Linked DNA regions of Homo sapiens: regions 2, 3, 4, 5, 6 and 7 are each linked to region 1. The links are contacts of gene promoters, found by promoter capture Hi-C in blood cells and fetal thymus (Javierre and others, 2016). All regions are on one chromosome and are shown on one strand. Each heading gives the region's core, a stretch centred on a gene start or on the middle of the fragment in contact. The rest is flanking DNA. Distances are from core to core; before and after follow the strand shown.

Region 1 (2,627 bases), core at 64-2,563:
GACTCCTACGTCTATAACTGAACTGACACCTCCAGTTTTCCTCATCTGAATTAAAAATAATACTAAAAAAAGCACAAAATAAAAGTTTAGATTTGGCATAACTTTAGTAGTCTCTACAATTGTGGTCTTCTTATAATAAATTGAAGCATTTGGAAAGTGAGCATGTATTTCAGGAATAAAGAAATAAATACCAACATTTACTTCCAAAATTCTTGTGTGTGGGGGGGAACATTGTCTACAATTTATTTTTTCTGTTACTATCAAAAACATCATTCAACTTTTCAATTCAAGCAGTGGAAAAAATACTAACATTTCACCGACAAACAAAAATGTTTTGATGAACAAACCAGCAATAAAAGTGCACATGAGTATGTATATCATATTTTTCCTCCTTGTATTTAATTAACAAATGACCTTAAGATGATAACTCTCAAAATTTCAGGTTTATCCTCCCGATTAATTTGTGACATTCCTTGGAGGGAATTCAAAGGGAAGAAGAGAAAGATTTTAAGCTTCAGGTTATGGTAAGGAACAGAGACAAAATGCATTTAGCAAATAATAGGAAAGATCACATAAATAGTTCTGAATGAAGTTTAAAGAAAACGATTCCTTACTTCTAAAAAAATGCAATTCGTGAGGTTGGGAAAAGACACTCAAATTTCCCCGACTCCACCCTACTAGTCAACAATCAGTGCAGCAATCAAAAAATGCCCTTTCCTGAATGCCCAGAAGAATCTTAAGAAACTCACCTTCTGAACTCAGGGCGTCTCGATTCTACTTTTGTTGGGTATTGGCCTGCCTACTGGCTGCCCTCTTTCCTATTTCTCGGCCAGGCGCTCTGGGAAGTAGATACCGTACCTGTGGTCACTGCTGGCGACACTGAAGCTCGCCCCATGCGTTGCTGCTGGCCCTGAGCATCACTCGCCGTCCCACTTGTTCCTCCTCGTCGTCATCGCAGGTCTTACACACACACACACACACACACACACACACACACACACACACACACACGTTCACACCCTCGCGCGCGCACCTGCTGTTAAGAGGTACAGCCCCACCCCAGCAAAATCCTCGCTTCCTCTTCCCCGGGACGTAGCCCCAGAGGAGCGAATCTGGACCAAGCCCAAGACAGGCTGAAGCTACTGCTGCGCTCTCACCTCCGGCAGTGACAGCGAGCGCCGCCGCCGCTCTGCGCGGGGCCAGCCAGGCCCGCCGAGGGCAGCACAGGTGGAGCAAGGTTGCACCCCCGGGGGATCCCCGCCCACCGCCCGCGGCAGCTTCTGCAGGCTCGGGGAAAGCGCGCGCCAGTGATTCAGCGCCTTTCCGCCGCCGCGGTTACCACGGCGACGCGCGCGCACGCGCACACACGCCCTCAGGGATGTGGGGCGCGGCAGCCGCCCCTGCCCAGCTCCCCTGCTCAGCTCCCCTGCTCAGCTCCCCGGTTGCGCTCTAAGTACCCGCACCGGGGCGACACACTCCCACCCCGCAGGGGACCAAGCAAAAGTCTTTCGTGAACCTGAGCGGCCTTCATACCCTACCTGCTTTCCTTCACCAAGCCCTTCCCTGTCACCGTGGCCCTAAACAGTCTGGGGGATGAACACTCCTTCCAAATAAACACCCGGGCCAGGGTGGCTCAAGGGAGCCGTGGGTGCACTGCCTGGGTCAAACACCCTTCGCGAATGTGTCCCCCAGCTTGTCCCCAGCTTGTGTCACCCCAGCTACACAAGTTCCATTCTTCCAGTGGGAGTCTCTTTGGCCCCTACTCTGTAATTATCTTTCTATTTTGAGCAGGTGCTTTCTGACTGAGACTGGGAACCTGTGCTAGGAGGGGCTCCCATCACCTCCAGGCCTTGCAGGTTAACTGGATGCCCAGTATAGTTTGACATTTGCATCTTGAGGAACGTGATAATCTAAACCACAGAAAACTTGGGTGGAAGACTCTTGCATTTTTACTGTTTTAATAAAGATGCGAAAGCATCTAGGGATAATATCATGAGCAGAAAAGGTAGCCAGGGCATTCCTCGCACATCTCATTACTAGGAGGTATAAGTGCAGTGCTTAGGGCTGAGTCACACACTGTTGATGAATAAGCTTCTTGGCTACTCGTATTTACCGAAGAGCCTCAGACAAGTTACCTAATCTAGATAAACCTGTTTCCTCAATTATAAAATGAAGATAATAGCATTCATATAGGATGATTCTGGGAATCAAATAAGATAATGCACATTTAAAGAGTAAAAACCAGCTGGGTGCGGTGGCTCACGCCTGTAATCCTAGCACTTTGGCAGGCCGAGGCGGGCGGATCACGAGGTCAGGAGATCGAGACCATTCTGGCTAACACGGTGAAACCCCCGTCTCTACTAAAAATACAAAAAATTAACCGGGAGTGGTGGCCCGCGCCTGTAGTTCCAGCTACTTGAGAGGCTGAGGCAGGAGAATCGCTTGAATCCAGGAGGCGGAGGTTGCAGTGAGCCGAGATCGTGCCACTGCACTCCAGCCTGGGCGACAGAGCAAGACTCCGTCTCAAAATAAATAAATAAATAAATAAATAAATAAATAAATAAATAAATAAATAAATAAAAACTAAAGAGTAAAAACCTGTCCAGGACTCAAAGAGTGAAAATCAG
Region 2 (2,627 bases), core at 96-2,595, 240 kb before region 1:
ATGGGAGTCTCACTCTGTCGTACAGGCTGGAATGCAGTACAGGCTGGAATGCAATGGCATGATCTGGGCTCGCTGCAACCTCCACCTCCTGGATTCCAGCAATTCTTATGCCTCAGCCTTACAAGTAGCTGGGATTACAGGCACCTGCAACCACACCCGGCTAATTTTTGTATTTTTAGTAGAGACGGGTTTTGCCATGTTGGCCAGGCTGGTCCTGAACTCCTAACCTCAAGTGGTCCACAACATTGGCCTCCCAAAGTGCTTGGCTCCCAAAGTGCTGGATTACAGGCATGAGGCACCACGCCCGGTGGCATGTTGAGTCTTTGAATTAAAGGAAATTAAAAGGGTCTCAGAAAGAAGCCTAAAAATCAAGGCCTCTCTCTCTCACCTTCCCCCTTCCTTTTGTCTCTCTGATACTCTTACTTTTTCCAAGCACCTGAAGGGGCTCTCTTTTCCTGCACAGCCAGATAAGGAATTTCCTTATCTGACAGAGAAAACTCTTTTCCAAAGAAATGCAATTGTCTTAAAACCCGTTCCTTAGGAATCGCATTAAATAATCAGAAGAGATTAATCACCCAGAGAAGAGACAAAAACTGAAAGTCATAGCCACACTGAGACTTTTCATAGATACTTCTGAGGGTAGCTCCAAGAGATTACCTGGGAAACTTTACCTGTATAATAGGACAATTTTTGTTCAGAGTGAAGTTTCACAGCTTGTCCACAAGCGATTGTTTGTACTTCTGTCCCACTGAATGTCCAAGGAGAATCATTTGCAAACCACTGTCTGGCTTTCGGGCCCATTCATACCTATCTCCCTCTACTCAACAAAGAAGGGTATACAAGCATCTGGACCTTAATTGAGTTATTGAGTAATCACTCTTCTGTGATTTTTCCCTATGCACGTTAAGCAAATTTTGTATGCCTTTTTCTCCTGCTAATCTGTCTACTTAGTTCATTCCAGCAACTTTCAGAGGGCAAAAGTAGGAGCTTTCCCTCTTGCTCCCTACACCACGTTAAATTTAAATATAAATTAAATGATGTGGGAATGGGTAACCTGCTCATTTCCAAACTGCAATTTTCATAGGTATGAAAATTCTCCACAAACTACAAAACCATGACACTCCAAGCGCCCAAGAACCTAGGTTGGACAGCTCACTTAGTGCAGGTAAACGTGCTCCACCCATCTCCCAGCCCGCCTGCCCCCTCACTTAGGTACAGGTGCAGGTACAGGTAGGCAAGCAAACGTCTATTGGCTGTGGACTTAACAGGCTCGCCCACAGGTACCTTCCGAGCATGCGTGGGGAAGTAGCACGCAGGCGCGGCACGCCCCGCGCATGCCTGGTGCACAGAGTCTGCAGGTCGGGCGGTAGCGACAGGTCAGAGCTGCGGCCTGAGCAGCCAGCGTCCGGCATGAAGGTCTGGGGTCTGGCTGCTGCCTGCTTCTTGCTCCAGCACCATGGAATGCCTGCGCAGTTTACCCTGCCTCCTGCCCCGCGCGATGAGACTTCCCCGGCGGACGCTGTGTGCCCTGGCCTTGGACGTGACCTCTGTGGGTCCTCCCGTTGCTGCCTGCGGCCGCCGAGCCAACCTGATTGGAAGGAGCCGAGCGGCGCAGCTTTGCGGGCCCGACCGGCTCCGCGTGGCAGGTACTGCCCTTCCCCGGCAACAGCCTTGGGACGCTGGTCTTGCAGTGACCTTAGACTGCTGCCCCAGCCGTCCGGCGCGGCGCGCCTGTTGCTCCGCGCCCTCCGCAGGCCTCGGCCTCCCGCGTGTCCTGTGAGCTTGCACAGGCCCGCGGGCCGAGCTGCGTCCCACTCGCTCAGAATGCGACCTTGCTATGTGCGCTGTGCCCTGCCGGGGTCCCAGCGGCCAACCCTCTGCCTTCTCCTCCACCGCCCTTGCTGCAGATTATGTAACCATAGGAACAACCTAGGAATCGTTTACAGACCGTGATCACGTTAGTTAACACCCGCTTAAGTGCTCTTGTAAGAGGTTTTTTCTGTGTTGTTTTTGAGACAGGGTCTTACTATGTTGCCCAGGCTGGACTCAAACTCCTTGCCTCGAGCCATCCTAACGCATTAGCCTCGCAAAGCGCTGGGATTACAGGCGTGAGCCACCACACCTGGCCGAGAGGTGTTTTTAAACAAGGATTTCATCTGTTCGGAAGTCATAAGTATAAATTAATACTTCCCTGTTTTCTGTTTCTTCGTTATGGACACATTTATACAGTTGTCCAGTTGCACGGAGATTGGGGACGCACCTAGAAGTGAGGCTAAAGACTGAGTTGTTTCTGAGAACGACTTACTTTCAACTACAGTACTCTATAAGTAAACAGCCAGGGAGATCGGATTGAGAAAAAAAAATCTTATTTGCTGTTTATTTTTTCACCAAATGTTGAAGCATGGTGAAAAGTTAAGATTTTCACAAATGTGAGTGCAAATATTTGAGGAATAAAAGGTATTGAAATGAATGACTTTATTAAGAACATAGCAGTGTCCTCAAATATGTTTTCTCAATTGTGCTCTCAAAAGCCTCCCAAAGTAACTCCTCGTCAGCACCTCATTCTCCACTTATTGGAGAGGCTAAGTTGGGTTACATGCTCTGCACCCTCAATTGATAATGCTTGG
Region 3 (2,627 bases), core at 47-2,546, 210 kb after region 1:
TTTCTTGGCAGCATGAGGTTTCCCTTTCTCTTTATGGAGGAAGAGAAAGATTTCCATGGGGGTGTTTACCATTGAAAGCCTTCACAGATGTAGTTTCTGAGTTTGCCTGTTAGATGAGGAAAGTGGAGGAGACAGGAGTCTATCAATGAGGAAGGAGATTTAGTCTCAGGCCTGAGAAACCCCATGGAAGAAACCAAGCGTTCAGGTGGACTCTCAGGAACATCAGGCAGGAGAGCAAGAACAACAGAGAGAGGAGGAGATGGAGGAGCAGGAGCAACAGCAAGTTCATCAGTCCATCAGGGCTGCGATGTAGCGGGGTGGCCAGGTCCCCCAGTAGGTGGCAGGGACTCCAGCATCATCTCCTCCCTGAACACCAAGCCTGAAGCTCCAGATCTGGTCCGAGGGTGGTCCCTTTCCTCCCCATCCCACTCCTAGGGTGTCTCTGTGCTAGGTTGGAGAGGATCTGCCCGTGAGGGAGACCATTCTTTGAGCAATGGTTTATATTGTCTGCTCAGCTCTGAACTTCCCTCATAACATGGAGTTAGAGGTGGGAATGCATTAGGAACAAAGAACCCTGGAATTCAGTTTCTTGTCTGACTCCAATTTAAGTGTGACTCCTGGGACAAGTCATTTAGCCTCTCTAGGCCCCTATTTCCCATCTGTAAAATCAGGAAATTACCATCCCACCAAAAATAGATGCACTTGATAATACTGAGCATCAGAAATAGGAGAAATATAGTACTTTTTTATATTAGCAGTGATAGGTGATGTGCATGATTTGAATTACTGTTAGGCTGCGAGACTCTGCGACTGTGCTAGTCTGTGTGGGTGGCGTCTGAGAGTTGGGGGAAGTAGAGGGAAGGTTTTCTGCTAAACACTGATTCAGGGCAGTTATTTTCCAGAATTGATCAGGCTGCTGATAGAATCATCCTCAAAGTTAAAATAAAAATTCCAGGGCCCACGTGGGACTATGGACCTGCGTGATTTTGGAACCACTGACTCAAGTGAGGACCCAAAAATGTAGAGAATGGACCTAAAAAATGGAAAAAAGCACAGATGCCAGACTCAGTAGCAAAGCAAGTGTTGAAACTTAACACTGAATACTAAACTGATTCCCTACCGGATCTGCCGGAAGAGAAGCATGCAGCCATTTGGGAAGCTGAGGGTCAAGGTCATTTATATTCCAGGTATTCTCAGACAGGCTCTTACATGTCAGTGCCTAGTGCTTGACAGAATAATTTCCCTCCTGAGTTAGATGATTCATTGGAAAATGAAGCCCTCCTGTCGAGCCCTTTCAAAAAAAAGTCTCCTTTCTTTACTCCCTTAATTGCAGAAAGTAGAAAGAAGGTGATTAAATCCCCATTAGCAACCCAGGGATCAAGCTGCTAAGAAACCTCAGAATTGCATAAGCACCAGCCCTCTTCACTGCAGTCAGATGGGCCAAAACTTGGAAGAGAAATTGACTTGCTGTGATGGCCGCTCATTTGACAGCCATGCCTGGCCACTGAGCCGTAAATCTGACAACACCTGAGCAATGCTCTATTTTCTAAAACCAGACTTCGTTTTTGTTCTGAAGATGCTGTGGTTTAACTCAATAATGTGTCTAGTTTGGAACTTTCTGGAATAAATACCAGAAAGGCACTGGGAGGGGAAAAATTCTCTGTGGGTTTAACACCAAGATTTACAAAATTTCATAGTTAGTTTGCTAGAAACATGAGGAGCTAAAGGAAGAATTTAAAGATCACCCCAAAGAAGCCAACAGACAAGCTAGAATGTGGGACATTCTGTACAATGGTTTCTACAGCAAGTCAAGGGTAGAAAAAAAGGTAGGGAGAGGTTTGTTTTAGATTAAAGGAAATCTAAAAGATATACCTAACAACCAATTGTAATGCATGGACCTTGTTGGGATCCTAATTTGAACTAATCAAATGTACAAGGCATTTTTGAGACAACGGGGGAAATCTGATAATGGAATGGGTTAATAACCAGGGTTTATTATTTTTGTTAGCTGTGAAAACGTGACAGTACTTGGCATCGTGGTTATGTAAGATGACAGCCCCATGCTTTAAGAGATGCATACTGAAGTGTATAGCAGCAGACTGACATATCTGGGTTTTATTTCATCAAAGGACTTCTCTTTTATCAAAGGAAAAACAAAAGCAAAGAGATGGAGCAAATGTGGCAAAATCTTGCTAATTATTACATCTAGGTGATGGGTTTATGGGGGCTCATTATAATGTTCTCTCCACTTCTGTGTATGTTTGAGATTCTGTCATAATATTTTTGTGTGTGTAGGTAAGCCTCAGGATGAGAAGCATCAGTAAACTATCAAAAGTGGGGTGGGTTGAGAGTGGGTGGCGCTGCGTCTTTGCAAGGAAAATAAAAATAGCATGGGCTCTCAAACTTCAAGGAGCTCTGCACTCTGCAGAGATGGCTCCTTATTCTCTCTAAACAAGGAAAATAATACCTTTCATCTTGATGGAGAATTCTCCCAGCAGATTCTCTAGCTCCACTTCAATGGTGCACATATTCTGCAAAGAGGACAGGAGACGATCATGAGAGCTAGCCTTTCACCCAACAGCTCAAAGCACACGACGTTCGAACAGCAGCACAACCACTGCGTGAAC
Region 4 (2,627 bases), core at 69-2,568, 220 kb before region 1:
CCAACTCTACAAAAGTATTGGAGGGCACAGAAGGGTGATAGTCTTGGTTTTTATATTTGTCCTTCACTATATAAACATTGAAAAGGTATTAATCCTCATTAAGAAAGGATTATCGGCCAGGTCCTGTGGCTCACACATGTAATCCCAGCACTTTGGGAGGTCAAGGTGGGTGGATCACCTGAGATCAGGAGTTCGAGACCAGCCTGGCCAACATGGTGAAACCCTGTCTCTACTAAAAATACAAAAATTAGCCGGGCGTAGTATTGTGCACCTGTAGTCCCAGCTGCCTGGGAGGCTGAGACAGGAGAATCACTTGAACCTGGGAGGCGGAGGTTGCAGTGAGCTGAGATCACATCACTGCACTCCAGCCTGGGCAACAGAGCAAGACTCCGTCTCAAAAAAAAAAAAAAAAAAAAAGGACTATCATCCTTAGCAAACTAACACACGACCAGGAACAGAAAACCAAATACCAAGTATAGCATGTTCTCACAAGTGGGTGCTAAGTTAAAAGAACTTATGAACACAAAACAACACACACTGGGGTCTACTTGAGTGGGGAAGGTGGGAGGAACAGAAAAGATAAAACCTTCACATGTACCACTGAACCTAAAATAAAAGTTAAAAAGGACTAAGTCACAAGTGATTTGGAATGTGAGGTTATCCCTCACCCCCATGCTTTACTCTGTACTATTTTTCCTCCCTCAGTTTCTTTTTTTTTTTTTTTTCTGTATACTATGCTTTCTATTATACTTTGATTGGCATGGGCCAATCTGTTATTTTTAAGTTCAACTTTTTTTTAACTTTTAAGTTCAGGGGTACATGCGCAGGAAGTGCTGGTTTGTTACATACATAAAGGTGTGTCATGGGGGTTTGTTACACAGATTATTTCATCACCCTAAGTATCCATTAGTTATTTTTCCTGATCTCTCCCTCCTCCCACCTTCCGCCCTCTCATAGGCCCCAGTGTGTGTTGTTTCCCTCTATGTGTCCACGTGTTCTCATTTAGCTCCCACTTACAAGTGAGAATATGGAGTGTTTGGTTTTCTGTTCCTGCAATAGTTTATGAAGGATAATGGCCTCCAGCTCCATCCATGTCCCTGCAAAGGGCATGATCTTGTTCTTTCTTTATGGCTGAACAATTCTTTTTTTAAAAAAGGATGTTTTTAGGAGGAATTGTGTACAGAGACTGTTCTAACAGATAACCACAGAGGGACCTTTCCAGCCATTGGAAAGACATTCAAGAGGAAGAGGAAATAGGTTGTACAGCAGGTCTGACTACAGGCAATAAGTTGGGAAAGAAGAAAGGTTTAGATGCAAAGGGAGCGAGGAAGTAAACTGTGGAAGGAGACATGAGTAAGCAGAATGTCTGCTATTTCACATATTTCTGGTGCAGTCATATATTTACTGTATCAGATTTCCAGAGGGTGTGGCTGTTAGTGTGTCTCTCTACTCCCAGGAGCCCCATGTCTATCAGGATCTACCACCGCTCCACTGGATGTGCCACTTTGTCCATCAAAATGCTCACCATGGATGTGATTCAGCATGAGAGAGGTGGGCAGAGTGGGGAAATGCAGTGAAATCTTCAATCTGAGCCAAGGCTATAGACGTGAAGTGCCCCGGAGAGTCGGGCTCCCAAAGAACTCCTTCCAGCAGCAATGACGACTTGGTTCTGTAAGGGACACAAGACAGAATTCATGGCTCATTCATAACATCTATTGAGTTCCTATGGTAGTCCAGGCATCATGCTATGCTCTAGAAATATAAAGATGAATAAGACACTGGCCAGATCCCCTGGCTTGAACTCAAATGCCACTTTCCCTTTGTTTACAGACCGCTTTCTCACATCTATAAGTTCTGAAAACCGCAGCTAAGGATGCTCACCCCAATCCCTATTCTGGCACATAAATCATAAAGGAGAAGTAGGGCAGTGCATGCTTAGTTCTGGTACAATGTGGAAAACATATCTTGAATAGTAAGGACTTCCCCTAGAAGCTGGCTTTGTCAATGTGTTTAGCGTACCTCCCACCTACCCTGCTGCTTAAAACATTTTAGGACCCATCTTTCAGAATTGCCTTCAAAACCTGCTGCAAGTTTTTAAAACATTTTCTTCTTTTTTGAAACAGAGTCTTGCCCTGTCACCCAGGCTGGAGTGCAGTGATGTGATCTCAGCTCACTGCAACTTCTGCTTCCTAGTTTCAAGTGATTCTCATGTCTCAGCCTCCCGAGTAGCGGAGATTACAGGCATGTGCCACCACATCTGGCTAATTTTTGTATTTTTAGTAGAGACGAGCTCTCACCATGTTGGCCAGGCTGGTCTCGAACTCCCGACCTCAAGTGATCCACCCGCCTCGGCTTCCCAAAGTGCTGAAATTACAGATGTGAGCCACCATGCCTGGTCTTTAAATATTTTCAGTGGTGGCAAATCTTCATACTCCGAGGTCGGATTTGATTTGTGGAAACTGACAAAAGTTATTCTGAACCAAAGCTGGCACATGAGGTACGGGTGATCAAACTGGCTGACAGTATTTTGGTCAGAGCAGGATATGACAGTTTCTTATTTAATTTTGAAAACTACTGATGAAATCTAGAAATAATAATAATAGCTAAAATTTGTGGAGGTTGTATCA
Region 5 (2,627 bases), core at 75-2,574, 190 kb after region 1:
GCTACTCCGGAAGCTGAGGCAGGAGAATCGCTTGAACCTGGGAGGTGGAGGTTGTGGTGAGCTGAGATCGCACCACTGCACTCCAGCCTGGGTGACAGAGCAAGACTACGTCTTAAAAAAAAATGTGTACACATGTACTTGTATAAAACACTCTCATACAAAATTTTCCTCTCTATTTATAAAGAGGAAATATAAAGATATTTATTTTCCCTTAAGCAACCCAAAAGAGGTGAATAATATTGACCCTTTTATTGCACTTGACAATAAAAAGGAACTGTAAGCCAACTGGTCACTCATGTGGAGAGTTTTATCTTCCTGGAAATGTGTACCAGGTCCCCTCTGACAGTAACAAAGAACTACTGTATCAGCTGTGACAGGAGAAATATAAGGAGACACTAACTTCAGACTTACCTGTGTTTCTCAGTCTCAGTGTCTGAAAATACTGAGTCAGCACCTCCGCCAACATTACAAACCTCATCACCATCCTCCTCCTCGTCAAAATCAGAGGTGTTCAGGAAATCAAAGCTTTCTAAAGCACTTTCAACTGTGAGACTTAAACTGGAAGACCTGCTGCGGCTTACTGCTGGCTTGCACTGTAAAGGCAGAAGGCACCAGGGAGAACATCAACATATCCGGAAAGAGAAACCAGACACACGATGCTCAATTGGAGATGCCACACTTTTTTTTTTGTTTCAAGTTTTTATTTTTTGTTAGCATTTAAAAAATGCATTTAAAAATCTTTATATCCAAAAAAGAAGTACAACCATGGATAAAATGGCACAATATCTGGGACTGGTTGCAGAAGAATCCAGAGGGAAGTCAGCAGGTTGAAGAATAGGAAACAAGATTGGCCATGAGTTGATCACTGAGGAGGTTGAGGGATGGGCACACTGGGATCCATTAGAGGATCTTCTCTACTTCTGTTTGAAATTTTTATAACAAAAAGTTGAAAAAAAACAAAAAAAACAAAAAACAAAACCATGTCAACCACAAAGCCTTGGGAAACAGAACTGCTATATCCCTCTGCCTAGTGCTCACCCCAAAATAAAATACCACAAGCAGACAAATTTTAAGTCAGTGAGTCAATGCTGAATACTGACCAATCTCTAATTCCAAGTGGCAATGTCTTCGGTGTTTTACAAAAGGCGCTAGCTATCTAAGGCATCTGCTCTAAAGGACTAACAAAACAAATCCCAGAAACAGGAAGTGGTTCAAATTCACCTAGCCCATGTTCCCTAGGTAAGAAGCCCTGCATCTTTTTTTTTTTTTTTTTTTTTTTTTTTTTTTTGAGACAAGGTCTTGCTCTGTCACTCAGGCTGGAGTGCAGTGGTGTGATCACAGCTCACTGCAGCCTCAATCTCCCGGGCTTAAGCAATCCTCTCACCTTAGCCTCCCAGGTAGCTGAGACCACAGGCATGTGCCACCACACCAGGCTAATTTTTTTCTTTTATTGCAGAGACAGGGTCTCCCTATGTTGACCATACCGGTCTTGAACTCTTGGGCTCCAGCAATCCTGGGCTTCCCAAAGTGTTGGGATTACAGGCATGAGCCACCGCACCTGCTCACAGCATATAATTTTTCCTCTGAGGACTGAGGAAAGAATGAATGCCTTGGGCATGACAAGAAGCAGCCCTGCTTCCTCTGGAGCTCTGCCTCAAAGGGAACAAGTCCCACCACTTCCCTGACCAGGCCCTGGCATCATGGGAGCAATCCCATTCTCTGGCCTGGAGCATTCTATAATGCTGGCCACATGCAGAAACATTACAAGCAAAACAATGCCAGTTGCTATGGGCACAGAGTTGGAGAGAAGTATTTCCAAATATTCAAGAGGATGCTGGGGTGGGTCGAATGGGACAAATTCTGCAAGTTAGAAGCACTAAATGTCCTCCATCCAGTTAGGTGACACTCCTTGCTGATTTCTTAGCGCAAGGTAGGAAGGGCCTTGCAGGGATCTGTCTCTGACACTCAAGATGGCACAAAAGCACATGGGAAAACGTCTTTCGGTCTTTTAAATCACAGTTGTCTCATTCACCCTCAGTGATCTCCGTCCAAGAGGCAGCACCATTTAGTTTCTGATCGTCAAGGTGTTTAGCATCCTAGGAATGTGAAGGAGGGAGAAAAGAGAAAGCTTTGTCCAGCTGATGCTTTAATTCTGGCTGGATACAAAGCCATTTGCCCCAGACCTAAACACACTCACTAGTGATGTTTTCAGCAGTCTCAGGGGGAGACAGGGAGTCGGTCTTGACTTCACCTACTTCTAGGGTCTTTTTTCCTAAGCAAGGTGTCTGCACAATTTTATCTTGTACAGTACAGATGTGTTTAAATATTGGTCATGACAAAGAAAGGGGCAGTTGAGGATTTTAGTAGCAGGACAATTTTGGAACAACAGCAGACTGAAATAATACTCTGGAAAGAAGTCTCTGATCACCAGTTTTTAATAATGCTTAGTGTTTCCTGTGGATTGAGCTACTTACCATCACCCTAGATGCCTGGAATGGGAGCTGCTATCACTACTGGATTTCTCTAAGGAATTCACTTTAGATGGCATCAATTTGTGTCTTAGCTCTTTGAAATGAATACCTTTTGCCCACAAAGCAAAGCTGGTCAACTTTGCAGAAAAGATAGGT
Region 6 (2,627 bases), core at 41-2,540, 160 kb after region 1:
CTGGTGGGAACTTTAGCCTCACTTTGTTGCCCAGGCTGGAGTGCAATGGAGCAATCATAGCTCACTGCAGCCTTGACCTCCTGGGCTCAAGCAATTCTCCTGCCTCAGCCTCCTGAGTAGCCAGGACTGATTTTTAATTTTTAACCTTTGGTACAGATGAGGTCTCACTATGTTGCCCAGGCTAGTCGAATTCTTCTGCCTTGGCCTCCTAATGTGGTGGGATTACAGGTGTAAGCCACTGTGCCCGGCCAGCTGGTAGGAATGCTAAAAACCACTTTACCTATGGGGTCAAACCTAGCTGAGTGTCTGAAACCCAATATTCCTGGGTGCCACTCCGGATGCACTATATCAGAATTTCCTGGGATGGGGCCCAGAGTTCTTACTTTCAGGAATTCTGATGATCAGCTAAATTCCTCATTCCACAGCACACTCCTGGTCTAGAGGAGTGAAGTGACGAGCTTGCTTTTCCAGAGTAGAATCCATTTTCCCTGGTTCTTTCCACTGAATCTCACTGATTCCAAAATGGCTCTAATTAAAAAATTCTTACTATTTAGTTTATATGCTAAAATAGAGGAGGAGGTAAAGGCCATTAATGACAATTCTTCTATTTGTTTGTTCCACAAATATTTATTGAGCACTCCATGAACCAGACTATTCATAAGGCATGAGAGATTCCACAGTAAACCAGACATGGTTCTGGTCCTCAAGAATTTACAGTCTAGTGGATTCAGAGTATGAAAACCCATGCAGATCACTGTATCCTTATGTCTTTATTTACTTTGTCTGTATCACAGACATCTGTCACTGATATATCACTGGATATCAGGAAAGCACCCAAATAGCAATCACTGTGGGCTTTCTATTTGGGCACCTGAAGGTAATTTTTTTTTTAACCAAGTAACAAGGCAAAATTTCCTACAGCTGTTTCTTTTTTTTTCTTTGAGACAGAGTCTCATTCAGTCACCCAGACTGGAGTACAGTGGCGTGATCTTGGCTCACTGCAACTTCTGTCTCCTGGGTTCAAGCGATTCTCCTGCCTCAGCCTCCTGAGTAGCTGGGATTACAGGTGTGCGCCACCACGCCTGGCTAATTTTTGTGTTTTCAGTAAGGATGAGGTTTCACCATGTTGGCCAGGCTGGTCTCAAACTCCTGACCTCAGGTGATCCACCGGCCTCAGCCTCCCAAAGTGCTGGGATTACAGGCATGAGCCACCATGCCTGGCCCTAGAGCTGTTTTTGATCACAGGCCATTAACTTTTTCTTTTGAGGTATTAATTCCTTTCTTTATCAGGCCTGCAGCTCTTTTCCAAGATTTTGGCAAGTTCTAAGGTGTGGCCTTCTCTCATTCTTTTTTTTTTTTTTTTTTTTTTTTTTTGAGATGGAGTCTCTGTCGCCCAGGTTGGAGTGCAGTGGTGCAATCTTGGCTCACTGAAACCTCTGTCTCCTGGATTCAAGCGATTCTCCTGCCTCAGCCTCCCCAGTAGCTGGGATTACAGGTGTGTGCCACCATGCCTGGCTAATTTTTTTTGTATTTTTAGTAGAGACGGGGTTTCATCATGTTGACCAGGCTGGTCTCGATCTCCTGACCTCAAGTGATACGCCTGCCTCAGCCTTCCAAAGTGCTGGGATTACAGGCATGAGCCACTGCACCTGGCCTTCTCTCATTCTTTTCTCAAGACTGATTTGTCTTATTTTTTTGTGATGAAAGTAGGTCAAACATTACATCTTGCCATTGAAAGGGAAACATCCATGTCAGGAGTTCCCATTCGTTTAGTACTTTTTTTTTTTTTTTTTTCTTTTTTTTTTTTTTAATTATACTCTAAGTTTTAGGGTACATGTGCACATTGTGCAGGTTAGTTACATATGTATACATGTGCCATGCTGGTGCGCTGCATCCACTAATGTGTCATCTAGCATTAGGTATATCTCCCAATGCTATCCCTCCCCCCTCCCCCGACCCCACCACAGTCCCCAGAGTGTGATATTCCCCTTCCTGTGTCCATGTGATCTCATTGTTCAATTCCCACCTATGAGTGAGAATATGCGGTGTTTGGTTTTTTGTTCTTGCGATAGTTTACTGAGAATGATGGTTTCCATTTTCATCCATGTCCCTACAAAGGATATGAACTCATCATTTTTTATGGCTGCATAGTATTCCATGGTGTATATGTGCCACATTTTCTTAATCCAGTCTATCATTGTTGGACATTTGGGTTGGTTCCAAGTCTTTGCTATTGTGAATAGTGCCGCAATAAACATACGTGTGCATGTGTCTTTATAGCAGCATGATTTATACTCATTTGGGTATATACCCAGTAATGGGATGGCTGGGTCAAATGGTATTTCTAGTTCTAGATCCCTGAGGAATCGCCACACTGACTTCCACAATGGATGAACTAGTTTACAGTCCCACCAACAGTGTAAAAGTGTTCCTATTTCTCCGCATCCTCTCCAGCACCTGTTTCCTGACTTTTTAATGATTGCCATTCTAACTGGTGTGAGATGATATCTCATAGTGGTTTTGATTTGCATTTCTCTGATGGCCAGTGATGATGAGCATTTCTTCATGTGTTTTTTGGCTGCATAAATGTCTTCTTTTGAGAAGTGTCTGTTCATGTCCTTCGCCCA
Region 7 (2,627 bases), core at 73-2,572, 150 kb before region 1:
GAAGCAAAGATGTCAATTCCACTTGGGAGGTGGAAGGAAGGGGGCAGATTTAGGGCCAAGAAACAGGGTTTGGAAAATGTTAAGCTCACGATATATTATCAGGTACCCACTTACACTTCATCCATGGGAAAAATTAAGCTCTTCATGAAACTGATGGTAATCTTAAAACACAAATTATGCATATTTTACATTAAAAGCAAGAGATGGGCTCCTAAAAGAGTGGGAGGAAATAGTATTCACTTCAGGTTTGCCAAATGAAAGGATGAATAGAAAGTGGGATGATTTGGCTGGGCGTGGCGGCCCACACCTGTAATCCCAGCACTCTGGGAGGCTGAGGCTGGTGGATCACCTGAGGTCAGGAGTTTGAGACCAGCGTGATCAACATAGTGAAGACCCCGTCTCTACTAAAAATACAAAAATTAGCCAGGTGTGGTGGCACGTGACTGTAGTCCCAGCTACTGGGGAGGCTGAGGTGGGAGGATCTCTTGAACCCAGGAGGTGGAGATTGCGGTGAGCCGAGATTGCACCACTGCACTCTAGCCTGGGTGACAGAGCAAGACCCTGTCTCAAAAAAAAAAAAAGAAAAGAAAAAAAGAAAGTGGAATGATTTGACAACAGTTGTCGCCCCAACAGTTTCCCCTGTAAGCTTAACACAGCCATGTGCACAGCCCCAAGGAAAGAAATCCCGCAGCTACCCCCAGACCTGAGGGGCAGTAGGCCCAGCTACTCCTGATTAGTCCAGAGGCCATATGCCTACGTGTTTTGTTTGGCTAACAGGATGTTTTATAAACTTAAATCAAGTTTATGAACTTTTTCTAAATGAGAAAATTCACGTAGAAATCTAGATTTCTGGCTCTCTTAAAAACAAAAGAACTGGCATCATGAACTGACGCTCCCATGTGACACGACAACCAGCTGCAGCCAAAGAGCCAGCTGCCCCCTGATAGAGCATGTCCTGCTCCTCCAGTCCCCACCATCCATGCAATGTGTGCAGGTTTCCACACCCCTTCTGGCCACCAGAGGCCTTTGAGTTTGCCTCCCTGTCACTCTGGGCCTTCTACAGACTGTGCGTGAGGGAGTCACAATTATTAATTGGGACTTTGGATATTGTCTCTCAGAACATCCAAGAGCAGTCAATCAATGGTTACAGGGGAAAAAAATACTGCTAGAAAAGATATCTAACCATATATAATACAACAAACCCATCCAAAAAGCACCAAAGAAATGGGTTCAGAACAGGTGTGGTGGCTCACGCCTATAATCCCAGCACTTTAGGAGGCCAAGGCGGGCAGATGGCTTGAGGCCAGGAGTTCAAAACCAGCCTGTGCAACATGGCAAAATCCCGTCTCTACCAAGAAAAAAACAAAAACAAAAATTAGCCGGGCATGGTGGCATGCACTTATGGTCCAAGCTACTCAGGAGGCTGAGGCGGGAACATCGCCTGTACCTGGGAAGTGAAGGTTGCAGTGAGCTGAGATCACACCACTGCACTCCAGCCTGGGCAAGACCCCACCTCAAAAAAAAAAAAGGAATGGGTTCAGTTACCAAACAATACTAATCCCAAATGTCTCAATTTCTCATTATGCATTTTTTTGTATTTGAGATTCAGAATGACATAAACGTATAAATGTAATAAAATAAGAGGAAATTATTTGCTTAGTGTGATAGTTATGAATATGGTCTTTATATGACAATATTGCTTGCAGTTTTATGAAGTTTGTATTACTTTGGTAACAATAAAAACATCAAAGATATGACTTTAAAGAAAGTTAAAACGTAGCTCACAATATTACTATCTGACAAATAATAAGCATATGGAAATATTTTTCTTTCTGCCCCACACCCCCCTTTCCTAATATAGGTGGCTTTGTTATAAACAAGACAGCATGATTCTACCATTTAGAACTCTTCTGGAAATAGAGACCCAAGGTGAAAAGTAAACATACAGTTACATTAAGGAGTGAGTAGGGAGAATACAGGTTTGAAAGCCAGAGGGTCTCAAGCTTTATGTGGGCCAGTCTAGAAAATGGGGGAGAAGAGGCTGGGCACAGTGTCTCATGCCTGTAATCCCAGCACTTTGGGAGGCCGAGGTGGGCAGATCACCTGAGGTCAGGAGTTCAAGACCAGCCTGGCCAACATGGTGAAACCCCATCTCTACTAAACAATACAAAAATTAGCCAGGCATGGTGGCGCGCACCTGTACTCCCAGCTACTCTGGAGGCTGAGGCAGGAGAATCACTTGAACCCAGGAGGCAGACGTTGCAATGAGCTGAGATCGTGCCATTGCACTCCAGCCTGGGCGACAGAGTAAGACCCTGACTCAAAAAAAAAAAAAAAAAAAAAAGTGAAAGAAAAAAAAGAAAAAGAAAATGGGGGAGAGGATGAATAAGGGTGGGAACTGGGGAGTGGAGGTTCCCAGGACAAGGGCAGCCAAAGGAGAAAGGAGGGAAGAGGTCCCTCTCACCTGATGGTCTTGTCCTTGTAGGCCCTGGTAAGGACAGACACCCAGCCAGGCGCTAGGGGGCATCAGGACAGGCTGGAAGTAAGACAGGAGCCAGGAGGAAATTGTTTACACTCTGAATGGGGGCTTGAAGAGGGGCACAAAACTGAGGGAAAAGGGGAGGGCC

Evidence for each region. The method cuts DNA at HindIII sites, captures the fragments that hold promoters and counts their contacts. A CHiCAGO score of 5 or more calls a contact.
Region 2: the fragment with the promoter of MRS2 here is called in contact with the fragment with the promoter of KIAA0319 in region 1 in 7 of 17 cell types (M2 macrophages, M1 macrophages, M0 macrophages and 4 more); the score reaches 9.2 in M2 macrophages.
Region 3: a contact is called between a fragment that was not itself captured here and the fragment with the promoter of KIAA0319 in region 1, in 1 of 17 cell types (neutrophils). The highest score is 11.1, in neutrophils.
Region 4: a fragment that was not itself captured here is called in contact with the fragment with the promoter of KIAA0319 in region 1 in 7 of 17 cell types (total B cells, M1 macrophages, M2 macrophages and 4 more); the score reaches 7.4 in total B cells.
Region 5: a fragment that was not itself captured here is called in contact with the fragment with the promoter of KIAA0319 in region 1 in 1 of 17 cell types (neutrophils); the score reaches 9.9 in neutrophils.
Region 6: a fragment that was not itself captured here is called in contact with the fragment with the promoter of KIAA0319 in region 1 in 1 of 17 cell types (neutrophils); the score reaches 5.7 in neutrophils.
Region 7: a fragment that was not itself captured here is called in contact with the fragment with the promoter of KIAA0319 in region 1 in 3 of 17 cell types (total B cells, fetal thymus and naive B cells); the score reaches 7.1 in total B cells.

Annotation. Positions count from the first base shown.
Region 1 is chr6:24,644,878-24,647,504 of GRCh38, forward strand. KIAA0319 reads right to left here and starts at 1,314. Exons shown (of 21, transcript NM_014809.4): 1 at 859-1,314. RefSeq lists a silencer at 1,159-1,368. The HindIII fragment of the contact is 1,579 bases long and covers 511-2,089 here.
Region 2 is chr6:24,401,591-24,404,217 of GRCh38, forward strand. It overlaps MRS2 (magnesium transporter MRS2), which reads left to right and starts at 1,346. Exons shown (of 11, transcript NM_020662.4): 1 at 1,346-1,646. The coding sequence starts at 1,457. RefSeq lists a silencer at 1-225 and an enhancer at 1,983-2,627. The HindIII fragment of the contact is 7,340 bases long and covers 1-2,627 here.
Region 3 is chr6:24,858,506-24,861,132 of GRCh38, forward strand. It overlaps RIPOR2 (RHO family interacting cell polarization regulator 2), which reads right to left. Exons shown (of 22, transcript NM_001286445.3): 8 at 2,468-2,531. Among named protein-coding and RNA genes, the nearest start is that of ARMH2, 61 kb to the left of the region's middle. The HindIII fragment of the contact is 4,946 bases long and covers 1-2,627 here.
Region 4 is chr6:24,427,450-24,430,076 of GRCh38, forward strand. It overlaps GPLD1 (glycosylphosphatidylinositol specific phospholipase D1), which reads right to left. Exons shown (of 25, transcript NM_001503.4): 25 at 1-1,669. The coding sequence ends at 1,583. Among named protein-coding and RNA genes, the nearest start is that of MRS2, 26 kb to the left of the region's middle. The HindIII fragment of the contact is 4,577 bases long and covers 1-2,627 here.
Region 5 is chr6:24,838,680-24,841,306 of GRCh38, forward strand. RIPOR2 (RHO family interacting cell polarization regulator 2) reads right to left here. Exons shown (of 22, transcript NM_001286445.3): 14 at 412-593. Among named protein-coding and RNA genes, the nearest start is that of ARMH2, 41 kb to the left of the region's middle. The HindIII fragment of the contact is 1,603 bases long and covers 524-2,126 here.
Region 6 is chr6:24,809,882-24,812,508 of GRCh38, forward strand. All of the region lies in intron 20 of RIPOR2 (RHO family interacting cell polarization regulator 2), which reads right to left. Among named protein-coding and RNA genes, the nearest start is that of ARMH2, 12 kb to the left of the region's middle. The HindIII fragment of the contact is 5,753 bases long and covers 1-2,627 here.
Region 7 is chr6:24,490,184-24,492,810 of GRCh38, forward strand. It overlaps a transcript of GPLD1 not described here. Among named protein-coding and RNA genes, the nearest start is that of GPLD1, 1.9 kb to the left of the region's middle. The HindIII fragment of the contact is 1,357 bases long and covers 645-2,001 here.